Regions from separate parts of the Homo sapiens genome. Here regions 1, 2, 4 and 5 are each linked to region 3. The links are contacts of gene promoters, found by promoter capture Hi-C in blood cells and fetal thymus (Javierre and others, 2016). All regions are on one chromosome and are shown on one strand. The core of a region is centred on a gene start or on the middle of the fragment in contact, and the rest is flanking DNA. Distances in the headings are between cores, read along the strand shown.

The links. Contacts are between HindIII fragments. The CHiCAGO score rates a contact against its expected background, and 5 or more counts as called.
Region 1: a fragment that was not itself captured here is called in contact with the fragment with the promoter of OR9Q1 in region 3 in 1 of 17 cell types (endothelial precursors); the score reaches 9.0 in endothelial precursors.
Region 2: the fragment with the promoter of OR5B2 here is called in contact with the fragment with the promoter of OR9Q1 in region 3 in 17 of 17 cell types (activated CD4 T cells, M1 macrophages, naive CD8 T cells and 14 more); the score reaches 18.3 in activated CD4 T cells.
Region 4: a contact is called between the fragment with the promoter of OR5B17 here and the fragment with the promoter of OR9Q1 in region 3, in 16 of 17 cell types (erythroblasts, M2 macrophages, monocytes and 13 more). The highest score is 11.9, in erythroblasts.
Region 5: a fragment that was not itself captured here is called in contact with the fragment with the promoter of OR9Q1 in region 3 in 1 of 17 cell types (endothelial precursors); the score reaches 8.2 in endothelial precursors.

Annotation. Positions count from the first base shown.
Region 1 is chr11:58,504,026-58,507,486 of GRCh38, reverse strand. LOC105369313 (a long non-coding RNA gene) reads left to right here. Exons shown (of 5, transcript XR_007062673.1): 3 at 1,945-2,018. OR5B21 (olfactory receptor family 5 subfamily B member 21) reads left to right here. Exons shown (of 1, transcript NM_001005218.3): 1 at 1-680. The coding sequence ends at 311. Among named protein-coding and RNA genes, the nearest start is that of OR5B21, 2.3 kb to the left of the region's middle. The HindIII fragment of the contact is 3,170 bases long and covers 526-3,461 here.
Region 2 is chr11:58,426,071-58,429,585 of GRCh38, reverse strand. OR5B2 (olfactory receptor family 5 subfamily B member 2) reads left to right here and starts at 1,465. Exons shown (of 3, transcript NM_001005566.3): 1 at 1,465-1,567; 2 at 2,910-2,964. The HindIII fragment of the contact is 6,968 bases long and covers 1-3,515 here.
Region 3 is chr11:58,021,700-58,025,311 of GRCh38, reverse strand. It overlaps OR9Q1 (olfactory receptor family 9 subfamily Q member 1), which reads right to left and starts at 1,431. Exons shown (of 3, transcript NM_001005212.4): 1 at 1,208-1,431. LOC107984331 (a long non-coding RNA gene) reads left to right here and starts at 893. Exons shown (of 3, transcript XR_001748218.1): 1 at 893-1,225; 2 at 2,288-2,472. The HindIII fragment of the contact is 4,257 bases long and covers 1-2,486 here.
Region 4 is chr11:58,357,666-58,361,275 of GRCh38, reverse strand. It overlaps OR5B17 (olfactory receptor family 5 subfamily B member 17), which reads left to right and starts at 2,207. Exons shown (of 1, transcript NM_001005489.2): 1 at 2,207-3,152. The coding sequence starts at 2,207. The coding sequence ends at 3,151. The HindIII fragment of the contact is 4,652 bases long and covers 1,668-3,610 here.
Region 5 is chr11:58,523,055-58,526,534 of GRCh38, reverse strand. No RefSeq gene overlaps it. Among named protein-coding and RNA genes, the nearest start is that of OR5B21, 17 kb to the right of the region's middle. RefSeq lists a silencer at 1,645-1,939. The HindIII fragment of the contact is 3,138 bases long and covers 596-3,480 here.

The DNA.
Region 1 (3,461 bases), core at 861-3,360, 480 kb before region 3:
CCCTCCTGGTCATCCTTATTTCTTACTTCTTCATATGCATCACCATTCAGAGGATGCATTCTGCTGAAGGGCAGAAGAAAGTCTTCTCCACCTGTGCTTCCCATCTCACTGCTTTGTCCATCTTCTATGGCACAATCATCTTCATGTACTTACAGCCCAACTCCAGCCAGTCCGTGGACACAGACAAAATAGCCTCTGTGTTTTACACAGTGGTGATTCCCATGCTGAATCCCTTGATATACAGCCTTAGGAACAAAGAAGTGAAAAGTGCTCTCTGGAAAATACTCAACAAACTTTACCCCCAATATTAAATGTGAATGGGAAGTAGGCAAGCAATTAAGGGATAAACTTTCTCTCACACCTAAATGCCATCATGACTTTTAACGTTTGACTGGTTTCAGTTCTTTCTTCCCCAAGAACAGCGGTTACTTCTGCTATTAGAAGATGTAAAAAGCAGCACGTTGAAAGTCTTACTTAGAAAGATAATCTTATATTTAGTGAACAACAACATGGGACAGTTAAGCTTTTCTTGCTTTAGTTTCTTGACGTGGTTTAAAGCAGAAGATTGAAGCATACAAATGAATGTACCAAATTTTCCTCATCCTGTTTTTAATTGTAAGAATTTTTCATTCACTATTAAACTTGGTGTAAAGATTTCACCTTCATTTTTATCAACTGAACACACAGTATCTTTTTTATTCTTTTGTTCTGCGAGTTTGAAAGTTGGACTTTCTGAGGTAGACAAAGGATGTTTCAATATTTTAAATGATATTTGAGAGAAAGTTGTAATTTAAAGGACAAGGCACTAGATCGAGTCAGGTAGCTGACGATTAAATCTTTCCAACCCCTTACTCTCCCTTCTCTACCCACATTCCTATCCTACTCACTAGTCATGTGCCTTTGTAATTTCCATTCCCTTTTGCTAAATCATTGGGGAAACATTACACCTTGTTATATACAGAAATATGGGAATGCTTTAATAGATGAATTACTTCAACTTTAACCTGACTAAATACAACTTCCTTCGGAGAGCCTACACTATCTTTTATGTTTCTTGTCTCTGTCTAACATAATTACCAAAACTTCCAGAAGGTTTAGAGAAAAAAAGCAGTTTTCCCTAGAGCTATGAAAAAATATATTTGTTTTCTGAATTAAATGCTTGCATTTCTTAGCACCCTTAAGTTTGGTGAATCTATTATGAAGATATATAATAGCTTTCTGGACTGTCTTTGCTTTTACTTTTTCAATAATTCAGCTCACCTCTGGGTCTCCATTGCATTCCGGTGTTCTGTAATTAGATGCTACAAGAATAAAAAAGCCTGCCTGGAAATTTACTTCTTAGGAACAGCACGGTGACGCACAGTGCTAGTACACCTTCAGGTCTTGTTTCATGTGCTAGATGGTGTGAGCAAATGTGTGTGTGTGGGAAGGGAGTGGTGATTAATTTCACTTCTCACGTATCAACTCCTTGATGGTGTTTATAACTACAGTTAATCTAAGTCACCACAATAGATCATGATTTCAAAATCTCCCCAAAAAACCCAACAAATTAATTTTGACCTTATAGATGAAAACCAGAAATCTTGGTTGGCTAACTCAGTTGGCTTAAAATGTCAATTTAGTTTTCAGATTATCAAGCTCCATTATGTACAGGGCAGCCTCTGTCTGAGGAGGATAAATCATAAGTCTTCTGGGAAAAATTGCAAAGAAGGAGTTATGGAACATGAGAAACATGAGAATAGCTTTCTCTGGCACATGGTTGCCATCACCTGAAAAGATCAGGAGCTTCTGAGCCCAAGGCCTAGACAACCTATACCTCCCCCATTCAGCCCCCTCCCTCCCCTCTTCTTTAGCAATGAGGCCTATTCAGCAACACACAGGAAGAACAGCCTTTACAGGCCAGGATCCACTGCATATAGGAATCTTTCTCATTGAAATCTACAGAGCTCAAGAGTATCTGCATTTGGAGAAGAGCCTGGGAAGCAGCTATCCAAGCACTGGGTGCATTCCAATCTCAGGTACACATTTTCCCTACTTGATATAATTGACTTTTTTCCCTCCTCATCCTGCTCCTCCTTCTTTACTTCATTTTATCCTTCTCCTCTTTTTCTTTCCCAACTTCTTTCTATGCCCAGCCCAAGCAGGAACTTTCCTCACCACTAGGCCATTTAGATTTCTATAAAAAAATTAAAGTCTAGAGTCTATATATCATAACCATTACAGTATATATTAAGATGTGTATCTGGGCATGTTTATTTCTTTTATGGTTTTAATTTTTATTTCATTAGTTTTGGGGGTACAGGTTGTTTTTGGTTACATGGATAAGTCCTTTAGTGGTGGTTTCTGAGATTTTAATGTGCCCATCACCCGAGCAGTGTGCCCAATATATAGTCTTTTATTCCTCACCTCCCTCCCAACCTTCCCCCATCGAGACCCCAAAGTCCATTTTATCATTCTTATGGACATATTTTGTTATGCCTCTATACCTCAGTTTAGGCAGGAAAATGTGGGCCTCCTGAGATTTAAGGGCTCAATGTCTACATATTTATATTTTATGTTGAAATCACCTCAAACAAGTGTTCTATCTGACTGTAAATAGGTATAAAAGAGTACTATCAAAAGCTGGATGAAAATTCTAACTGTTCTTATCAATTGTGTGACCTCAAGAAAGTCATTTAGTCTTACTGAACCCAATATACAGGATAAAGTGTGAGGGTAATATGAAATTAAGTATGTGAATGTGCCCATCATAATGAATGTGTATTTCATACCATTGAGATTTCTATACTAGCTCTTTCTTCACTTAGCTCTCCCTGGACTTCTTATTTTGGCTCTTGAGCTGCCTGAGCAAAAATAGGAAGTCCAAGGACTGATAGGTGAAGCTCGTCCCATCCAAATCCTAGCTTTTATTTTCATTCCTTGTTTAACTTCCTGCCCTCCAAGTTCCCAGCTCTACAGCAGACATATTTCAAGCTGACATTACACGGGTATTCATTTATAGAAACTACTCAGAAGGAGATGTCCTGTCGCCAGCAAGACATCAATTCACAGAGTATACGTTACTGCAAGGAGCTCTTCCCTTCCACATAGGAAATCTGTCAAATGGAGACTAAATGCCCATTTGGTTAATAACAACACCCACTTGCTCCCTGCAGGAATTGTCTGATGAATGAGAGACCTTGTGCGTAGGGCCTGCCGCTCAATGCAGTGCAATAAAGGCACAGGGACTTCCTACCTGAAATGTTCAAAAAAGAATGTGAAAATTCATAAATCAGGGCAGTTATTTATATCAGGATAGATTATTCTTTCAAAAATGGATTATGATTGAATTATTCTAAATAGGATGTTCCCTTTGTGCATTAAAGCATTTGTTGAGGTTTATGTATTGGGAGTGGAAAATTAAAATATTAAATTCCTTGGCAATTGAAGCTGGAATTGCGGAGTCATAGACTCTTTAGCCA
Region 2 (3,515 bases), core at 216-2,715, 400 kb before region 3:
TTTTTTTTTTCCTTTAAGTACTTTAAAAATAGAATCTCTATTTTTTCTGGCTTGTAAGGTTTCTGCTTTTAAAGTCCACTATTATTCTAATGGTGTTTTCTTTATAGATGACTAGACACTTTTCTCATGCTGATTTTAGGATTTTTCTTTCATGTTGACTTTAGACAATCTGATGACTATATGTCATGTTGAGGTCCTTTTTACAATGTATTTTCCTGTAGTTTGTTGGGCTTATTGTATCTGGATGTGTAAATCTCTTCCCAAACTCGGGAAACTTGTTGTCAATTATTTCCTTAAATAGGGTTTCTGAACTTTTTGCTTTTTCTTCTCCCTTGGAAATACTTATACTTCATATGTTTGGTTGCTTTATGTAGTCCCATACTTCTTAAAGGCTTTGTTTGTTCTTCTTTATTCTCCTTTCTTTATTTTTGTCTGATTGAATTAATTCAAAAGACCTGTCTTCAAATTTTGAGATTCTCTTCTCTGCTCGTTCTAGTCTATTCTTAAGGCTTTCAACTGTTCTTCATAATTCTTTCAGTGAAATTTTCATTTCCAGAAGTTGTTTGTTTCTTTAAGATCTCTACCTTCTTGGTAAATTTCTAGCTCATATCAGGAATTGATTTTCTGATGTCTTTGCATTGGTATTCAGTTTTCTCTTATGTCTTATAGAACTTCTTTAAAATCAGTATTTTGAATTCTTTATCTGACATTTTGAAGATTTCTTATTGGTTCAAATCCATTGCTAGAGAATTACTGTGCTCCTTTGGAGGTGTTATAGCACTTTGTTTTTCATACTTCCAGTATTATTATCCTGATTTCTTTGCATCTGGAGAATTAGTCACTTCTATTATTGAATTTACTTTCATTGGGGTGTGACTTATTTTTCTTGGGAATGTGACTATAATGTATGCTGAGTAGGGTTATTTGGCTTTGTTTCTGGCTGTCTAAACTGGTGTAGACTCTGTATGATTTTCTTGTTTGTAAATATCCTTAGTGTACTGGTTTGGGTGTCCCAGATAATGATTTGGGCTATGGAACACACAGTGGTCCTGGTTCCATGCTTTGTATCCAAGGCAAGAGGGCAAAGCTGGGCAGTGTTGGGTTGTGCAAGTCTGCACTTGAACCCCACGATGGCATGTACAAGTGCTGGCCCTTACAAGGTTCAGAGAGCAATCCTCAGACCTCTGAAGAAACGCTCCAGCAATAAGCAGAGCAACTGCTGCTATGCCAATGACCCCATGAGGGAAAGAGTACATCCTAGGCTCCATGGCCTATCAAGGGGTAGTAAGACCCAGTTTGCTCTCATTAAACCCAGCAGGGCTCTTTCCCACAGCTGGACACTAGCAGTGCGTTGGGACAGTTAGCCAACTCAAATGCACTTTGCCTTTAGAGTGTGAAAATGCCTCAGGCTGCAAAACTTGCTACCGTGGTCAAAACCACTCCTCTCAGACTCAAACCCTCCTGGTCTTGTCCTGCAAGGTGGATTCCCAATTCCATTGTCCACAGCTGAAGCCCATGCTATTCTTGCCTCTCCATTCTGGCCATGTGGATTCCTCCTCCAATCAAGGTAAGATCACAAATCTCTGGCTAACAACTCTACAAACCAGTGACTGACACCAATGCTAGCTGGCAGGTTCCTGTGCAACCCACTATGAGTTAGCATCAGGAATGACCTCCTTCCATTGGTCCTTAAGTCTGAGAGTGCATGTGGGGTACTTCCCAGTGCTCTTCCTTCTCACAGTCCCTTGACTGTTCCCCAAGTCTGATCCAGGTTTTGGGAAACTCAAAAAGTTCCCGATAGCCTAGGTTGCCTGGCTTCCTGGTGGGTATGTGTATTGTGGAGCACTCCCCCTCTCACATATGGAGGGACTGATTCACAGTTTTCCATTTGGGCTGCTGTCTGTCTTGTTTTCAGCAGTATACAAAGTTTTCTTTCACTTTTATATTGAACAATCATGTTTCTACTTGGATGCAAATTCACAGTGTGAATCTCTACACACCACTTGCTATTTCCAAGTGAGCAAGGATTCTGGCAAAGCATCCATTCTGCTATCTCAGAAAAAAAATACTCATCTCTGTTTTATTAATGAGAGAACTGAAGTGCGTAAGTGTTTATACAACCTATAATCTCAATATGAACTTTGTGAAGTTATGCTGCCATCGGCCAACGAAACTTACATAACACTTTAGCCTAGTTTCCATTATGCCACTCATGATTCTGTCTGATTTCTGCCAGGAAAGTTAATGATGAATCTTTTCTGAAGATGTTCACATTACCAAGAAGAAATAACCCTGAGTAAAGTAAATACACTGGTGTTCTTCCTAAGAAAATGGAACCAGGCTTTCATATGCAGTTTAATTATTGCTTCTCTAGATGATTGGAGTGAGAGACTGTGGTTATTCTCATGGGTAACTTGTCCCCTGAGAACTTTATGTACGTTCAAATTCCTCAATTATTGTTAGTTCCCAGTCATTGGTCTCTAACATCCCAACATGACTCTATTTAACATCATGTTAGAGGTTCCACCCTGTGTGTCACCTTTTGGTGATCATTTATTGATCTCAGTGTAAAAGGTTGTCCATTGTACTAAGTGGCCTTATTTCACACTGGTATATTACTCTGAGTCTGCAACAATGGCCAGGGATAAGACCCCCAGCTAAAAATGATGTTCATTGCAGATACGATGATCCCTTCTTACAGCTCTTTAGGACTTTACAGAGTGCATTCAGAGACTTCTATTTTTCCTCACAGCAGCAGCCCTGTGTGACAAGTTGGAGAATATTTTCTAATCTCCACCTAGTCATTACTTTTTCCTTAAATCTCCCTCCCTCTAGAGAACTTCAATATTTGTGACTAGACATTAAATAATAACTTCTTAAATAGGAGCTTTTCTTTCTTCTTTGAGTAGGACTTGCAATTTGAAGATACCAACTGAAAGTGTGTCATCTTCCTTGAAGAGCAAGGTAAGTTTCTAGCTCTGTTCTACGGTCTGTTTAGGTTGTAGTAATAGAATATGTGTTATATAAAAGTTCAAGGGCAAACATTTTCCCATTGAGTAATCAGAGTTCAGTTTCCCAGCTTTTAATATTTTCATGCTATCACGCTATTTAGCCACAGTCCAGGTGTTACAACAATCTCCATTAATTGGGAAAATGGTGATTTTATTCAAATAATAGAAGATGGTATTATTCTCATCATTTAAAATTCATATGCTTAGAGGGCAACAGACATTGGTGCCTATCGAAGGGTGGAGGATAGGAGGAGGGAGAGGATCAGAAAAAAAATAACTAATGGGTCCCAGGCTAATACCTGAGTGATGAAATAATCTGTATAACAAACCCCCATGATGCAAATTTACCTATGTAACAAGCCTGTACATGTATCCCTGAACTTAAAATAAAAGCAAAAAAACAAAAAACAAAACCCTTATACACACAAAAAATCCATGTGCTTAGAAGAACATTTAGAAAATGATGGGCACTCTAAATACTTGTTGAGGCAATGAGAGAATGTA
Region 3 (3,612 bases), core at 182-2,681:
ACCCCAGCTACTCAGGAGGCTGAGGCAGGAGAATCTCTTGAACCCGGGAGGCGGAGGTTGCAGTGAGCTGAGATCGCGCCACTGCACTCCAGCCTGGCGACAGGGCAAGACTCCGTCTCAAAAAGAAAGGGTCATTTACGGAGCCCCTCCCATGGGCTAGATTCTGATGGGCTGATACCATCTGGCTTAATCCCCACAATATTGTACTATGATCCTATGAACTATTCTTGATATAGAGGTGTTATTTGTCTTGGTTTTCACGCAATTGAAATCACTGAAGGCTCAGAGAGACAGTAAGTAAACTTGGGCAAGATCAAAGAACTACATGGCACAGAGAAGAGCCAAACCCCAGAGCTTCTGACAAAAAAAGCCTCCACACCGTGCCATTTTCCTCTGCCATCTCATTTCACCCAATGACAACGTGCCTGCAACCCTGGCTCCCTGCCCTGACTCTGAGGTTAATTTCCCTGCAGCTCGGAGCCCCGCCAAGGCTGGAGGAATATCCCACAGGCTCCAGTGAGCTGCAAAGCACAGTCACACTCCCAGGGCTATTAACAGCATCCGCTTCCTCTCCAAGGTTCAGGGAACTTTATCCACCAAGTGCCATGCAGGAAAAAAGAGGTCAGCCAGAGAGGAGAGGGTCACACGGGGCAATCACTAAATAAGGAGAAAGGCCGCACAGGAACTTGGCCCAATTTGGTGTCCTCAAAAGACGGTGCTCCCTGGCCAAGATTTTCCCTAACAAATATGGAAAAACAGTTTGAGGCCCATGCACGAAAATTGAAACTTGGTTCCTGTAGCTATTTGCTTGTGTAGCTACGTGACAAGCCTGGTGAGAAACGCTGGATTTCTCCCTCTTTCAGTTCTCTCCACCTGGCATCTGGGGGCCTAGTCCCAAAAAGTGAAAGGAACTGGAAAATAAACTTACTAAGATCCAGGAAATGATTTCAAAAAAAAACAGCCAACAAACCGAGGTGAGCAGGCGCAGTGGGTGGGTGTTATGAGACAGACAGCGGGGCTAGGAGATGCCCAGGATGAAGCCCGGAGACCTGCTCTCTGATTCCTCTTGGGTCTAGCTCATCACAGCCTGCTTCCCCACTCCCACTGCAACGTGACAGCAACAGCACATCTCACTTTCCAACATGCAGACAGCCCCCTGTGTTAACAGCACCGTCTCTGAAATCAGTGGAGCTGCATTTGACCCTACCTCCGTCAGGCCGTAGCTGTGAGTTTGGGAAAGGCGTTTGATCTTTCTGAGCCTCAGTGTCTTCATCTTCAAACGGGAAGGATAACATGTACATTGCTGGGCTGGACTAAAGATGGAAGGAGACATCATTAAGGGAAAGTTAGGGCCTTTGCTCCTTTCGCTCCCTCTACCATCTCTGTGTGGCATCCTCCTGCACTTCTTCAATTCCCTGCACAAGGGCCACCTTAACAGAGAGGCCCTTTCTGACCACCTATCTGAAAACGCAGTTCCTTTCACTCTCTGACCCTCTTCTCAGTTTGATTTTTTGGGTCACAGCTTCATTGCCATCTGGTAGATATTTATTTGTTTGTCTATAACATCACGCACACACACACACACACACACACAAAAGGAAGCTCCTTGAAGATAGTGCCTTTGTTTGTTTGTTCATTACTGTGTTGCTAATGCCAAAGTCACTGACATGTAGTCTACATGCAATAAATATATACTGATGTAATAAAAGGGTGGCTGCATGCTCCTGATTGTACGTTGGCAGCGTACTTAGTTTCCTTTCCATTTCTAGCTACCTGTTTTTAAGGAAATTTAAGGAAAAGGAAGTTCAACAATACTTACAGAAAAGTCAATCAATTTGGGTGTTGTCCATGCAATTACTGTCAACGGACTACAAGACTGACAATGCCTGCAGGAATGATGTCTTGTATATCTGGAGCAGCCTGCTCTCATGGCCTTGGGTGGGAGGCAAATTGAATTGATTTCTACATATAATTTCTTTTTCTTAGCTACAGAATTTAATTCTAAATTTCCCGGAAAGCTGTACTCTATCAGCTGTTTTCAAACTCTGTTCCACCAAGCCCTAGGTTTGCTTAGTTGCCAGGTAGCTGGGAAGAGGAAAGGACCTAGTATGTGGGGCTCTCAAAATCCCTGCTTCAACCAGCTAGTAAGTGACAGAGTCCAGATGAGAATCCAGCCCAGTCTGACTCCAGAGCCCACCATCTTTCCATCATACCACCTCCCCAGGGAGGGTGATATTCCTAAAATAAAATCTGATCAATTAACTGGGCGCTTCTCTCATTATTCCAGGACTTCAATACTGAGCAGATACAATCTGTTCCTCAAAGCTACTGACATATAGTCTGCCTATGATGGGAACAAATGGGAAACTGAGGTATAAGAAAATAAGTGGGAGGCTTCTCCAGCCATATATGTGACAGAGACCCCAGACCCAAACCAAGCCAGAGAGTCCACTATAGCAGACAGGAACCAAGGTGAGAATCAAGCTTTCTGAGCTTCTAGCTCTTAATCTCTAGGCAGCAATAATATCTATTCTTGTTGTCTCTCAGAACATTCTGTGAATTGATGAGATAGTGGATGTGCGGGTTCTTTGAAACTTTAAAGGTACACTCTGGTAAAACCTGCTTACTCTTTTGCTTCTATTGCTTATGGACTATGCGATGACCACAGAATTTCAATAAAGGGACAGCATGGGAATGGCCATCTGGTGGGACTCTGGGAATGGTCATGAAGCTGCCCTGGAATAACAAAAGCAAATTGATTTTGTTTAGATTGTAGGTTTGAGGTGGCTTGAGGAGGCAGATGGAGATGAAGGAGAACTAAAACCCCACAAAGTCCCTCGGCACCCCTACTCTATAAGAGCTTAAGCAAATCAGTTGAATTCTGTGTGCCTCCATTTTCTCACTTGAAAACTGAATTGATATTTAAAACCACAATGACTCTGTAAAAGAGCTTTTGGGCCGGGTGTGGTGGCTCATACCTGTAACCCCAGCACTTTGGGAGGCCGAGGTGGGTGGATCACTTGAGGTCAGGAGTTCGAGACCAGCCTGGCCAACATGGTGAAACCCTGTCTCTACTAAAAATACCAAAACTAGCCAGGCATGATGGCATACACATGGTAATCCCAGCTACTCAGGAGGCTGAGGCAGAATTGCTTGAACCCAGGAGGTGGAGGTTGCAGTGAGCCGATATCACACCACTGCACTCCAGCCTGGGTGACAGAATGAGACTCTGACTCAAAAATAAATAAAATAAATAATTTTTTTTAAAAAAAAAAAAGAGGTTTTGAACAACAAAAAATGAGATTACAAACTGGGAAAACTCTGAAGAAAAGATTGGGCTATACCAAAGTCAGGAATCATACCTCTAGATTTGGTATCCATTTGATTGATAACATTCCTTCCATACACCACGCCTTGCATGCTCTTTGGATATAGGCCTCTAGAGGAGCCACGTACCTGCCTCCCACTGCTTCTCTAGTTTCCTAGTGTCTTCTCTGGGTGAAACACCAAGGCCAAGCATGCCCAGAACCTTGGAACTGGTGGCCAGGACAGGTTATTGAATCCCACTGAAGAACAGAGACCCCAAATTCAAGGAGCACAGTTTCTCTGAAC
Region 4 (3,610 bases), core at 958-3,457, 340 kb before region 3:
TAGAATATGAGGAAGGTACAAAACTCCTCTAATCTCCCAATATTTAACAGCAAATGGGGTTATATATCTGTCTGTATAAATACTCTCTCTCTCTCTCTCTCCATGCTCTGATATCTATGTCTGTCAATCTATCATCTCTCTATCATTCATGAAACAAACTGGTTCATAAGTACAAAGGCTAAGCTGCTAGTAACTTTAGAAGATCTGATTTATAAAATCAATGTATTCCAGATATGTGAACTTGAGAATTTAATACTTTCTCTGCTCCTCTAGTGATTCATATATACAATTAGGAAGTTGGCTATGTGATCTGTGAAGATGTCTCAACCATTTCTGATTCTAGAGATAATTTACCTATGATATATAATATTCATACTCATTATGGCAGCCTTAATAATGTTCCCCAAAGGTGGTCATATCTTAACTTCTGAAACCCATAAACATGTGGCCTTATGTGATTTTTTTACAAACTTCACAGTGATTAAATTAACATGTTGAGATGGTAGGATTATCCTAGATTATCCAGGTAGGTACAGTGAGAACCTTTCAGTTGTCATAGAACATAGTAAATTTTTAAAGAAAAACAATAAAAATTGTAGCTTATATTATTATGTGGGTAGTTTTTTGGCAAACAAATAATTTGAATTCTAGAAGTGTCAACTGATGTGTACTGGGGGCAGGAGAAAAATGATAGACAATCAATAGTGGTTATGAGGAAATGAATGTCCTTCTGACAGATTCAAATTCAAATAAAAAGATTGTGCATAAACACATCTGCAGCCTACAGTCAGCCCCCAAGACTACGAACCTCCAACCCTCAATATCTGATATCCTGCTAAGTGTTGAGAGTAATGACAGGAAGAATGTGTCTAAGATAAAAGGGGATTGTTTCAACACAAGGTAAAATGTAGTTTGAAAGGGAGAAATTAAACACAACAGGACTTGAAGATCCCTGGGTTCTCATGCTAGATGGCTGACACAGTCATTCACCTGGCAAAGAATGGATAGAGTGAGAAATGCTGAAGGAAACAAAAGACTGGACATAGTGTGTAAGAAAATACAGATCAGACAGAGTAAAACTGCCAACTTGAAAACCCACCCACACCTTCAGCCCTGTGTGTCACCTCTATGTGTTCTACACCAACATATGCACCACCATTCCATCCTAATAATAATATTATAGCTAGCACTCATCAGGACTGTGCTGAGTGCCCACATTTTGCCAACAGCTGAGCATTATCTCATTTAACTCTCAAAATAATCTCTTGACATAAGTCCTAATATCATCTTCATTTGACTAATGGATAAAATGAGATTCAAGGAAGTTAGATTAAGACCAGTGTCTCCCAAGTAGTAAATGTTAGGGCTTATGAGTTAATACAAATCTACCTCTTCTTAGAGTCCTAGATTTTATACCCAATGCTATATCTTCTCTGCAGAATTGGCTTTGTTGGTTGCACATGACATTAATGCTGCATTTATTCCACTTCATCTAGTATGCATTTATTTGTGCATTGCTCTACTATGCAACTTCATATGTTATGCTTGGTATAATAGATAGAATGAGTACATATAAATAGATTAACATTTAAAATAATTCAAATTCATTAAAAGAATTTTAATTCTTTTAATTTAGGTTGGGAACCACCCTGATTGTGTCTAAAGCTTGGTTCTATCTACTGGTGCTTGTGTAATCTTGAATAAATTATTCAAACTCTTTTTTTCTACCAAGATACTTCATGTATAAATTGGCAATAATAACTAATTAAATAATAGGATTAATGAGAGAATTCTATGAGGATGTACATATAAAGCATCTGGCATGAGACAACTATAAGTGTGTTTAAGATGTTAGATTCAAAAAACATATTATTTGGGAGATAGATTCACTTCAGGCATGTGACATTGGACAACTCATTATTCCCTTCCTATGACTCCATTTACTCAGACACAAAATTAAGAAGCTGGAAAGATGATCCACGAAGACCCTTTTTCTTCAAAAGTCTATTACTGTATAGATAAGTTATCCACTAAATTGTGTTTTCATATCCATAATTTTGATCTAGGAAATATAGAAAACAAATCATTGCTATAATAAAATAACACATACATTTCAGTTTTGTGCAACTCTGTTTTGTTCATCACAGGGTTTTTCTTTTTTATCTCTCCTTGCTACAGAGTATCTTGTGATTCTAAAATAACATCCATGGAGAATAATACAGAGGTGAGTGAATTCATCCTGCTTGGTCTAACCAATGCCCCAGAACTACAGGTTCCCCTCTTTATCATGTTTACCCTCATCTACCTCATCACTCTGACTGGGAACCTGGGGATGATCATATTAATCCTGCTGGACTCTCATCTCCACACTCCCATGTACTTTTTTCTCAGTAACCTGTCTCTTGCAGGCATTGGTTACTCCTCAGCTGTCACTCCAAAGGTTTTAACTGGGTTGCTTATAGAAGACAAAGCCATCTCCTACAGTGCCTGTGCTGCTCAGATGTTCTTTTGTGCAGTCTTTGCCACTGTGGAAAATTACCTCTTGTCCTCAATGGCCTATGACCGCTACGCAGCAGTGTGTAACCCCCTACATTATACCACCACCATGACAACACGTGTGTGTGCTTGTCTGGCTATAGGCTGTTATGTCATTGGTTTTCTGAATGCTTCTATCCAAATTGGAGATACATTTCGCCTCTCTTTCTGCATGTCCAATGTGATTCATCACTTTTTCTGTGACAAACCAGCAGTCATTACTCTGACCTGCTCTGAGAAACACATTAGTGAGTTGATTCTTGTTCTTATATCAAGTTTTAATGTCTTTTTTGCACTTCTTGTTACCTTGATTTCCTATCTGTTCATATTGATCACCATTCTTAAGAGGCACACAGGTAAGGGATACCAGAAGCCTTTATCTACCTGTGGTTCTCACCTCATTGCCATTTTCTTATTTTATATAACTGTCATCATCATGTACATACGACCAAGTTCCAGTCATTCCATGGACACAGACAAAATTGCATCTGTGTTCTACACTATGATCATCCCCATGCTCAGTCCTATAGTCTATACCCTGAGGAACAAAGACGTGAAGAATGCATTCATGAAGGTTGTTGAGAAGGCAAAATATTCTCTAGATTCAGTCTTTTAATGATGCAAAATCATCACAATGTTATTTTATCTCACTTAGATCTACTTTATACAATAACTCAAATGTTAAAATGCTATATGGTATATAGAATGTAAAATTTCATCTAATATTATTTTTGTCTTTAGTTGAGAAACAGTTCTAAGTATCCACGAGTTAGAAAAATACGATGACAATTTCTCATGGAGTTTAATGAAATATGTGTTGTCTCTTGTCATATTTTAGCCAACTATGAGTCATTACTGTTTCTTAATAAACTAATATTTCAGGCATTAATAATTTTAGGTATTTGGTACAGCTTGTTCATATGACAATTTATAAATGGTAAATAACTATATTAGAATAATAATATATTAGAATTAAAAGGCAGAGATAATTCTTTTTTTTTTAAACTTAGCCTATGACTATCAAAGACATCTTGAACTGAGAGAAAGAAATAAAAGAATCTCTGTTTGCTATTTA
Region 5 (3,480 bases), core at 915-3,414, 500 kb before region 3:
CTTTTTTTTTTTTTCTGAGATGGAGTTTCGCTCTTGTTGCCCAGGTTGGAGTGGAATGGCGCGATCTCGGCTGACCGCAACCTCCACCTCCTGGGTTCAAGCAATTCTCCTGCCTCAGCCTCCTGAGTAGCTGGAATTACAGGCATGCGCCACCACACCAGGCTAATTTTTCTATTTTTAGTAGAGATGGGGTTTCTCCACGTTGGTCAGGCTGGTCTCAAACTCCCGACCTCAGGTGATCCACCCACCTCGACCTCCCAAAGTGTTGGGATTACAGGCGTGAGCCACTGCGCCCAGCCACAAATTCATTTCTAAAGTAAAAAATGAAACACAATTTCACATTTGCCTCCTGAAGACAAATGAGATGGCTGTTCTTAGAGCATCTCTGAAGAAAGATGCTATAAATAAAGCTCAAATGATTATTATCTAGAATTAGGAAAGCCAAGACTCAAAGAAAAATTCCTCTTAATCATTTGTTCATCTCAAAATATTATAAGTAAATGTTTAGAAAAGCTTGTCAGGTTATCAGAGAATCTGATTTTCTTATGTCCTGTCAGTTTACTGTCCTACAGTTTACTTTTTATAAAAGTAAGCTTCACAAGGACTAATCTTTCTGCAAAAGGGATATTGAGAAGATCAGTACAATATCTTTCTTCCCGTGGTCTTAAAAATAATTGTGTGATTATTTGTTATAACAAAAACCAGACTCTTAGAATCCTTGATTCTGAGATAAGTTACTGGCGAAAACTCCTTCACTGGAGGTATTTTTAAAAATAGGACAAAATTTGATGTCTTTAGATTGATAGAGGAATAGTACTACTTGGGAGAGCTGAAATGGATTAAATGTTTCTTGCCAAACTTTATTATATCTATGTCCTTTGTTGGAATGGATAATAAGGGGGTTGTGAGAGTTACAAGGAATTGGCAACAGTTAATTCTATAAAATAGGAACTCCAAATGCATGTAAGATATGTGGGAGGCCACACAGATACGGAACCATCTGGCCTCTATCCTGTTTGGCTGTCTGAGAGCGCCAGACTATGCAGAACACACATTCAACTTTTAAACATCCTCTTTGCAATGTCTTCACTCAACGATGTCACACGCAGGTGTTAATATGGCAATGTTCTTGGTTGCCTTGGCAATTTGACAAAATAAACTTGGAGTTTTAGCCCTTAAAAAGAAATGTACAGGTGCTAAAACTTTTTTAAAAAGGATTAGCTATTTTGAGATTCAATAGAATTTAACTATTTTTAAATGTCAAAGAAAATCCAGAGTTCACTAAGATGTAATTAAGAAGTGAAAACACTTTCTTCCCACATTGAACGGAAGTGGTTTTATTTGCTCAAAAAGAGATACTGACTTCAGGACCAGTGTTTTAGCAATAAGGAAACTACTCACAAGTAAAAAGTTCTGCTTTTTAAAAACCCTGGAAATGCCATTACTAAAATTGATCACGTACTTATTTACTTTTGGTTTTGAGTAACTTCTAGGATGTTTAAAAAATAAAACCCACCCTCACAGGACAGGGATTTTCCACCAGTGAATATAAACATATAGAAAGGAATATGCTCTAGAGTTGGCACTGTATTCTCAAAGGGGAGTCCCTCAATTAGTTTGGTCAGTTTTTCTTTGAAGTAAATTTAGTCTCTTCCAAGGTAATACTTTGATAAAGACAACAATTATTTTTCCATCCAAGTTCTATCACACACTCTTCTTGGAGTTGTAGGATGGCTGCCAGCGCATGCTTCTTGTTTCATAACCAGTAGGGGGAGCAAGAGTGCTTTTATCGAGCATTTGCAAGCAAAAGTTCTGGGATTCATCCTCACTGGTCTAGCCTAGGTCACATACCAGTAATTTTTGCTGGGGGAATGGATTCTGCAGCTTGGCTTAAACCAAACTGAATTATTTCCAAAGTTACAAGCAGGACTAAGTTTCCCGAAAGCACAAGGGCTTTGTGGAGGAGATGTGAATACTTTAAAAGCTGGATATTGGTAAGAAGCGGGAAGAGGACAATGAATCTTGAATTCGTGTGTTCAAAAGTGAAAATATTGGAGTTTCTGAGTTTCAAGGTAATGTAGAAGGTAAGCAAGCAGGCATTGTCAGTATCCTGAGGGATCATGTCCAAGAACTTTACAGAACCCAAAGGCAGAGGAGAGAGCCAGGAATGCTGGTGTCCTGAGGAACATGCGGCAGTGGCACTGCTCTTCCTGGGCCCCTAGGGGCGCACCACTGAGAAGCATCAAAAGCACCTTCAGTTTGGCAGTCTGGAAAAGGAGATCTTGCAGCTGAAATCAAGGTGAGAAAGAGTAGCAGCTTCCTTTAGAGGCGAGTGTCTTAGGCATAAGCACGTCCTCAATAAGGCAGTGGTGGCAGCCACTGAAATATGACACTGAAAAAGAGATTGCCTGTCCCCAAAATATTGTGGAGGTTGTGTTACTAGGTACCATCAGTGCAGCACATTAAGTGCTGGGAACACAGAGCTCAGTGGGGAAATGGAAATCTCTTGGGATCCACAGGATAAAAAAGAAAGAAATCTCAGGTAAAAGCTGGTGCTTGGGTTGTACTTGTTGCAAATTTATAACTTTGCCAGAAGGCAGTGTTGTCTCAAATTTATAAGAAAGGAGACAGTTTATGTAGGACATTCCCCTACCTTAGATATAGTCAGCGTATAGTGCCTAAATTGATTTTCCGTGGGGAGAAGTCTCCTAACTGTGTTTAGGTTCATAGACCATGGATTACGGACAATTGCATAAACTTCCTGGCACCCTGTTGAGAGCCATCCATCTTCCCTTCCTATTTTGGATATCATTAAATCACAATAAATACTGTATTATGGGAATAACATTTTTCCTGGGATAAGTACCTCCATTCTAGCGAGAGATATCTCAGATCACAGGTGTTACTGGAAAAACTCCTAAAGCTGAAAATGAACAGACCAAGGAATCAAAGAAGGCTTTACTTTCTCTAAACTTTAACTTAGAGAATTTGATTTTGGATTTTAATGTTTTTGGACTTTGATATGCTATGTTGAATAATATTATTGGATATAATTGAGGATGGGACGTGAAATGAAAGGGGAGTGAATTTCTGAGCTGTTTTTCCCCACAGTCTAGTTTCTCCACAAAGAACTGCATCTCCCATTCTTGGTCCATGTGTTTAGGCAAGGCTGACTTTAACCTCAGCCTCAGAAATAGGTACAGTCCCAGGTCTGACCAATAAAAGTACTTTGTTCTTCTGAAGGAAGGTGATTGGATCAGGGATAGACATGTGACCTCAGCAAAGCCAATGACCTTTACTAGATTTATTCAGAAAGAACATTCCCATTCGTTGGAATTCTAGTTGTGCGGATAATAAAAACCCATTGCTGCTGATAAATATTTTTATCATCACTTGGGGGAGGCTGTCTGAGAAAGAGGCCAGCACAGTGGAACGTAGAACCAAGTAATGGAGAGGCTGTGTTTTCTTTTTTTGAGCCAC